Regions from separate parts of the Homo sapiens genome. Here region 2 is linked to region 1. The links are contacts of gene promoters, found by promoter capture Hi-C in blood cells and fetal thymus (Javierre and others, 2016). All regions are on one chromosome and are shown on one strand. Each heading gives the region's core, a stretch centred on a gene start or on the middle of the fragment in contact. The rest is flanking DNA. Distances are from core to core; before and after follow the strand shown.

Region 1 (3,601 bases), core at 755-3,254:
AACAGTCCTATATTTTTTGTACCCTAGCCCATGTAGGCATTGCCCTTCTACACTGACATTTGTATCGGAATGGAAATGGGGGCTTCTAGTATCTTTTTCATCCTTATTTCTTCATTAATTCCCTACTTTCCACCAGAATGGCCTGAAATGCACCATACATAGTACTATCTTTGGCTGAGTTTTTGTTCATATCATTCCTTCCAACCCAGATTCCCTCTCTTCCCTTTTTGTGCCTTGTTCGTGAAATCCTATGAATTTCTAGACTGGACCATTGTTTCCATAGCACTTTTTAACTTGCATCCTTGTTTGTCCCTGATTCATATACTGCCATATGACTTCTTTTAAAATCGTATTTCTCTGAGAATGTTATTGAATGTGCATATATAATATATGAAACATATACACAGAACATACATATATATATAGAGAGAGAGAGAGAGAGAGAGAGTGTATATAAAATATATAAAATACTTTTTTGAGATGTTATCTCATTCTGTTGCCCAGGCTGGAGTGCAGTGGTGTGATCTCAGTTCACTGCAACCTCCGTCTCCTGGGTTGAAGTGATTCTCCTGCCTCAGCCTCCCAAGTAGCTGGGACTACAGGCGCCTGCTCCCATGCCCGGCTAATTTTTGTATTTTTAGTAGAGACGGGGGTTTCACCATGTTGGCCAGGCTGGTCTCAAACTCCTGCCCTCAAATGATCCACCCACCTCGGCCTCCCAAAGTGCTGGAATTACAGGCATGAGCCACTGCGCCTGGCCAAAATATATAAAATATTATGTATGTATATGTCATCATCTCTCCTCAATGAAACTGCAAACTCATTGAAGTCCTGGATTCCACATTGTCAATAGTAATTGCCAGGAATACACAAGTCCAATTTTTAAAATTGTGTCATATGAAGTAGTCAATCAAGTGTGGTTGGCCACTTACTGAGTCTCTTCACAGAGCCAGACCTGAGAGTATCCGTAATTGTTACCCTAACCTCAGGGAGCTGCATTTTCCTCTACTGAAAATTGAATACAATGCCATCTGCCATAATTAATTCAAAGATTAAACAAGGCTACCGTGGGTGCCTGGCTCTTCATAGGCACTCAATAAATGTGAGTTGAGAGCCTGCCCCTGTGGTCCCAGCTACTTGAGAGGCTGAGATGGGAGGATCGCTTAAGCCCAGGAGCTGGACGCTGCAGGCAGCTATGATGGGGCCACTGCACTCCAGCCTGGGCGATCAAGCGAGATCCTCTTTATTTATTTATAAAAATAAATAAATAAATAAATATGTGAGTTGAATCACAATCTAGGTTTGCAAACCTCCATGTGTAAAGGCTGCGCAGAGGGAACAGTGGTGGAATTATCACAGGCAGGCCAATGTTTCAAAGAGCTTAGTGAAACTGAAGAAGCTTGTGCATACAAAAGGCCAGTTTAGGTAACTGTAACTGTGTTTAAGCTTTAGTTTCCTTTCTAAGTAGATATATGTGGAATGCAAGGCCAGCAACCAACTCACAAATACTGATCAAGACGGGGGAGGGATCTAAAGGAATGTGAGTACGTCCTGCCAGGAAAGAAGTTTGCTGCTTCTGAAATATTTTCGTCTTCGCCACTGGCAGGATTGATCGATTGCAGTTAGCGAAGAATTTTCTGTGCAAACTGTCCAAGCATCTGCTTCTGTACTTCTGTACAACTGTTGCTCAAATTCACTCTTCTTTTCGAATCACCATCTTTGAAGAGAGACAGAAAAATCCATTTAAACCACCCGAACTAATCATTCGAACTGCTTCCAAGTCCTTTAAAGGAGAATCCTAGCGAGGGTCCGTAACACTTCCCCTTACCCTCTGCCTGGGTTCAAACTTCAACTCCCAGGGTTCGCCCAAGTCCCTCCCCTAGTCCTGTCATCTAATGAATATGCAAATACCACATAATTGGCAGCCAATGGCATGGGTTCTGGTCACATGGTGCCGATGGTAGGTGAGCAGACAGAAGTTGTCAGTGAACAGAGACGGCGCTCAGTCTGGGGCGAGCGCTCTAGTGAGCGCGGACGGATGCTTAGGCAGTAGTCCTGGCAGCGGCAGTAGTGGTGGCAGCAGAAGAGAGGAAGGGGGAGGGCCCCGAGGGCTACACACGCTCACACTTTCAAGTTCCCTTGGAGGGAGAGGAGGTGGGGCTGCAGAAAGAGGAGGCCAGGAGCGGTCCCATCCGTCCCGTCCCGTCCCGTCTCCCCCTCTTCCTCTTGCTCCTTGCTCCCCGGCTCTGCGAGAGTTGAGGGTTCAGGTGGCCGTACGCGGCAGTGAGGGCAAGAGGGCCGGGAGAGTGGGGAGCGGAGGCAGGAGTGCGGGGGAAGATGCCCATCCTGCTGTTCCTCATAGACACGTCCGCCTCTATGAACCAGCGCACTGACCTGGGCACCTCTTATTTGGACATTGCCAAAGGCGCTGTGGAGTTATTCTTGAAGGTAAAGGGAGGGGAGGGGAGAGATGGGGAGAGCTCCCGAGGGATTTCAGGGTGTGGATTGAGGTGCTTCTGTAACGTTTGTATCGCCCTCCCCCCTCCTTTCCTACGCGACCCCCTCCGTCATCCCTTGCCCCGCAGCTGCGCGCCCGGGACCCGGCCAGCCGTGGAGACAGGTACATGCTGGTCACCTACGACGAACCCCCGTACTGCATCAAGGTAAAGGGGCTACGGGTGGGGGGACAGGCGGGAAGCGGGAGCAAGTCGGCGGGGGCTGCTTACCCCCCTGCCCCCGCCTAAGGCGGTCCTGCGTCGCCCGGCGGGGCGGGCGGCGAGGGGGTGCGCAGAGGGCGGGCGGAGTGGTGCCGTCGGCGGCTTCGGAGTAGCTGTCGCGCCTGGGGTCGGGGAGAGGGGACCGGGGAGGAGCAGCCCCGGGGAGAAACCGCAGGAGGGCCGAGCTCGTGGCGCGACAACCGCAGCCGCCTCGGAACATGGCGGACATTTTGCTTTTGTATGAGCCTGCGAGAGGGAGACTGAGGGCGCTGCTGAGATGGAAAGGAGGGAGGGGAGGGAGGAGCGGGGAAGGAGGGCCCGAAACCCGGAGGGAGGCTGCGAGGCGGGCCCGCCCCTTCGAGGCGCACCGCGCGAGGGTCGCCGCGCGGGGGGCCGGACGGAGCCTGCGACTCCGCCCCGAGGTCCTGCCGGCCGGGCGCGCGGGCTTTCCCGGAGCCTGGGCTCCTCCTCTGGCCCCTCCTTCCTCCCCCGGTCTTCCTCCCCCTCCTTGGGCTCTTCGCTGCATCTCCTCCTTCTCCCCCTCTTCCTCCTGGTCCCCTCCCCTTCCTGCTGAGAGCGTGGCAGAGCCAGCCGCCGGCCTTCAAAGACTAGACAACCGCCTTTGCACTCGTTGGCCTCTCACCACCCCCGCGCAATCGGAAATCTGTCCGCGACGCCAGTCTCCCCACCCCCAGACCCGGAGAAAGTCTTTGCGTTTCTGCTCCGGAATTGGCCAGGTTCAGCCCCGCTCTCAGTTACCTTAGCTACTGTTACTGTTTCATTGGAAATTCCAGCGAAGCAACGACACGGAGGGGGACGTGCCAAGTGCGAACCCACAGGGGCAGAGCTTTTTAGGGATCCGCTCTACCTATTTACATCATAAA
Region 2 (3,963 bases), core at 1,310-3,809, about 12 Mb before region 1:
GAAGCAGAAGTGGCCTTGAGTTGATTATTGTAGCTGGATGAATACAGAAGCGCTCATTGTTACTATTATTCTCTCTACTTTTGTGCGTGCTGTTAAACATTTCCATAGTTTAAGATAAACTTTTTTTGCAGTAGAATTTCCAGATTGTCTTACAGTCTTGGGGGTAATGACTTAAGTTTATATTTACATGTCAAAATTACTTGCATAGGAAATTTAGCCTTGTGTAAGTGATTACACAATGCTTGGCAAAACTTTCAAAAAAAAAAAAACGTTTAAACGGGAACTAGTATAAAACAGGCAACATAAATACTTATAAATTGGTTGAACTTTAAATGTTTATAACTTAGCCTGAATGTGCTCTACTTTTAGTTTCCTTTTTAATTCTTTGAAAACAGGAAAATTCCATTTGCAATTTTTGTAAATTCTGCTTAGTGTCTATTTCATCAAGTTGGAGTTACAGTGAGTCAGTATGAAAGGGATTTACTATTAATAGGAGGGGCTTTGGCAGTTGCAGTAAGTGACAGTGGAAGGGATTGAGGTACCATAGGGAGCATTCCTGGTAGAAAGATCTAGGTAGCTGAATTCAGTTTCAGAATTTGGTGTTTAATGACTAGGTAGAGAAGTGGGTTGGAAAAGAAATGTACTTATTAGCTATTCCTTCCCACTGTGAAGTAACTATAGTATTCTAAGGTGTATCAGAGACTGGCAGAGAGGGTGGAGTGGGTTTTTTTTTTTTTAACTGATAAGAAAATGAGTGTTTACATTTAAAATGGTTTAAATCACCTCATGCCCCAAGGATCTGGTGCTATAACTAGTTAGAAGTTGATATGTAAAATATTTCAATATTGTCTGTTAACATTCTGACCATTACCCGTAAACAGTAAAAATGTGTTGCAATGACAATCCTTGGTCTCCCTTAATTAGTGCATTTGTGAACTGCTCCTAAATTCTATTAAGGTAAGTGCCTTTTTTTTTTTTTTTTTTGGCAGTTCTATACTGTTCAGTGTCAGGTTTATTTTTTTCCCCCAGGAGATACATTTTAAAAATACATGTCACAGTTCCGAAAGGAATCCAAAACAATGGATATTTAATTTATAGCAAAATTTCACCCCAATCTGGGAACAGACATTTTGTAACTGTTACCATTAGTCTGTTTGTGTATTTCATATTCAGGATTTTAGCTTTAGAAGGATGTTAAAGGAAAATAGGTGACATATTTCAAATTTTTATTCATATACAAATATTCTTAGTAGATGGTAAGGATTGTGGCATCAGATTTATTTTATTGTGGTGAGGCAATAGCTAAACTACTACACTAACACATGATGAGTTTGGTAACTTTCAAGTATATTTAGTTAGGATTTTTTAAAGCCCAAATGCTCAAATAAGATTTTCATGAAATCAAATTCTACATTTCTTTTTCAACTGTATTGACTTCTGCGGTCACCTGAGGACTTATGAATTAAAGTGAATGGGATGGGCTTGGGGGACAGGCTAAGGCTCAGATCTATTCCTTTGGGAATTTAGGGTTAGATGTGAAAATATGCAGTTTAGTAATGCTTAATATTGTGCATGTTTAACTGATACCACCCACAGTCATATGTGGGAAGGTAGTAAACAGAGAATAGCATAATCTTTCTGCTTCGGGTTCTTTATAATAGATGGCAGACTTCAGTTTTTGATGCTGCAAGTTGACTTTTGAACTTAAACCAAAATCGGCGGGGCACAGTGGCTCACACCTGTAATACCAACACTTTGGGAGGCTGAGAGGCTGAAGTGGGGGGATCACTTGAGCCCAAGGAGTTCAAGACCAGCCTGGGCAACATAGGGAGACCCCATGTTTATAGATAATTTAAAAATTAGGTGTGGTGGTGCACACCTGTGGTCCCAGCTATTTGGGAGGCTGAGGCAGGAGGATCACCTGAGCCCGGTACATAGAGGCTGCAGTAAGCCACGATTGCGCCACTGCACCCAGCCTGGGCAACAGAGCAAGACCCTGTCTCAAAAAAAAATTAAAAATAAACTAAAATGTACAGTTTACTATATAATGGAGTACCGTTTTGGGAGTTGGGGAGAATAGCGAGGGAGAGGGATAGTTTCAGGTATGGGCATCAGTATATACTGAAGTGTGATTGTTGGAGAGTAAGGAAGGAACTTTAAAGACATAGGCTATTTTAAAAGTTTTTGGCTGGGCACCATGGCTCACGCCTGTAATCCTAGCACTTTGGAAGGCTGAGGCAGGCGGATCATGAGGTCAGGAGTTCAAGACCAGCCTGGCCAACATGGTGAAACCCCCATCTCTACTAAAAATACTAAAATTAGCTGGACGTGGTGGTGCGCGTCTGTAGTCCCAGCTGCTTGGGAGGCTGAGGCAGGAGAATCGCTTGAACCTGGGAGGCAGAGGTTGCAGTGAGCTGAGATCGCGCCACTGCACTGTAGCCTGGGCGACAGCGAGACTCCGTTTAAAAAAAAAAAAAGTTCTTAACATTTTTCTGCATTGGCTACATGTTCAGGACTTTAGTTCGTGTTTCAGTACTGTCCCTGTGTAATAATTCTTTATGTTTCTGGGTATCATAAATGATGGTTATTGCGTGTTCTGATTGGCAAAGATATATGATAAAGCAAAATTATCAGTTTGATTTTTCAGTCTCTTGAGTTGACTGCTTTACGTTTAATTTACCCAAATTTTATATTTCTTCAGTGTAAGTGGTGTTGCTTAGTGGAGTCTAATTTTTGTTGATGTGCCTTTTAAAAATCTATGCATCTTCAGCAGCTGTGGTAATCTGCTACCTGAATTGTGTTTTTAATGTGTGCTTGCTATAGATCTTTGATACTCACCAGTAGACACCAAGAAGTCTTTACATATGGTTATTGTAGTAAGTCAAGAAGAGATTTATTTATTTTTTGAGACGGAGTTTTGCTCTTGTTGCCCAGGCTGGAGTGCAGTGGCATGATCTTGGGCTCCCTGCAACCTTTGCCTCCCGGGTTCAAGTGATTCTCCTGCCTCAACCTCCCAGTAGCTGGGATTACAGGTGTCCGCTACCACGCCCAGCTAATTTTTTGTGTTTTTAGTAGAGACAGAGTTTCACCATGTTGGTCAGGGTGGTCTCAAACTCCTGACCTCAGGTGATCCACCCACCACAGCCTCCCAAAGTGCTGGGATTACAGGCGGAGCCACCGTGCCTGGCCAAGAAGAGATTATTGAAATTGTTTTCCATTCCTTCTGCCGAAGAAAGAGAGGATGAATAATGTCAATGGTGTATTTTTTTTTTTTTTTTTTTTTTTTTTGAGACGGAGTTTTGCTCTTGTTGCCCAGGCTAGAGTGCAATGGTGCGATCTTGGCTCACTGCAACCTCCACCTACTGGGTTCAAGCGATTCTCCTGCCTCGGCCTCCCGAGTAGCTGGGATTACAGGCATGTGCCACCACACCGGGCTAATTTTGTACTTTTAGTAGAGACGGGGTTTTTTCCATGTTGGTCAGGCTGGTCTCGAACTCCCGACCTCAGGTGATCTGCCTGCCTCGGCCTTCCAAAGTTCTGGGATTACAGGCGTGAGCCACTGCGCCCAGCTGGCCTATTCTTTTTTATTACAGTCATGCATTGCTTAACGGCGGGCATACCTTCTGAGAAATGCATCTTTAGGTGATTTTGTTGTGTGAGCATCATACAGTGTACCTACACACACCTAGATGGAATAGCCTACTATACATCTATGCCATATGGTATGACCTGTTGCTCCTAGGCTACAATCCTGTACAGCATGTTGCTGTACTGAATATCGTAGGCAGTTATAATACAGTGGTAAGTATTTGTGTTTGAAAACAAAAAAGATACAATAAAAATACGGTATAAAAGAAAAAATAGTACACCTCTATAGGGCAGCTCCCTTATAATCTTATGGGACCACTGTCTTTTTTTTTTTTTTAGATGGAGTCTCCCTCTGTCGCTCAGGCTGGGGTGCAG

What was found. The method cuts DNA at HindIII sites, captures the fragments that hold promoters and counts their contacts. A CHiCAGO score of 5 or more calls a contact.
Region 2: a contact is called between a fragment that was not itself captured here and the fragment with the promoter of INTS6L in region 1, in 1 of 17 cell types (M0 macrophages). The highest score is 8.0, in M0 macrophages.

Annotation. Positions count from the first base shown.
Region 1 is chrX:135,518,656-135,522,256 of GRCh38, forward strand. It overlaps INTS6L (integrator complex subunit 6 like), which reads left to right and starts at 2,005. Exons shown (of 18, transcript NM_001351601.3): 1 at 2,005-2,448; 2 at 2,586-2,663. The coding sequence starts at 2,338. INTS6L-AS1 (INTS6L antisense RNA 1) reads right to left here and starts at 2,019. Exons shown (of 2, transcript NR_046740.1): 1 at 1,912-2,019; 2 at 1,428-1,717. RefSeq lists enhancers at 2,159-2,238, 2,269-2,328 and silencers at 2,579-2,848, 2,909-3,108. The HindIII fragment of the contact is 2,771 bases long and covers 1,445-3,601 here.
Region 2 is chrX:123,963,995-123,967,957 of GRCh38, forward strand. All of the region lies in intron 1 of STAG2 (STAG2 cohesin complex component), which reads left to right. Among named protein-coding and RNA genes, the nearest start is that of STAG2, 4.3 kb to the left of the region's middle. The HindIII fragment of the contact is 7,160 bases long and covers 1-3,963 here.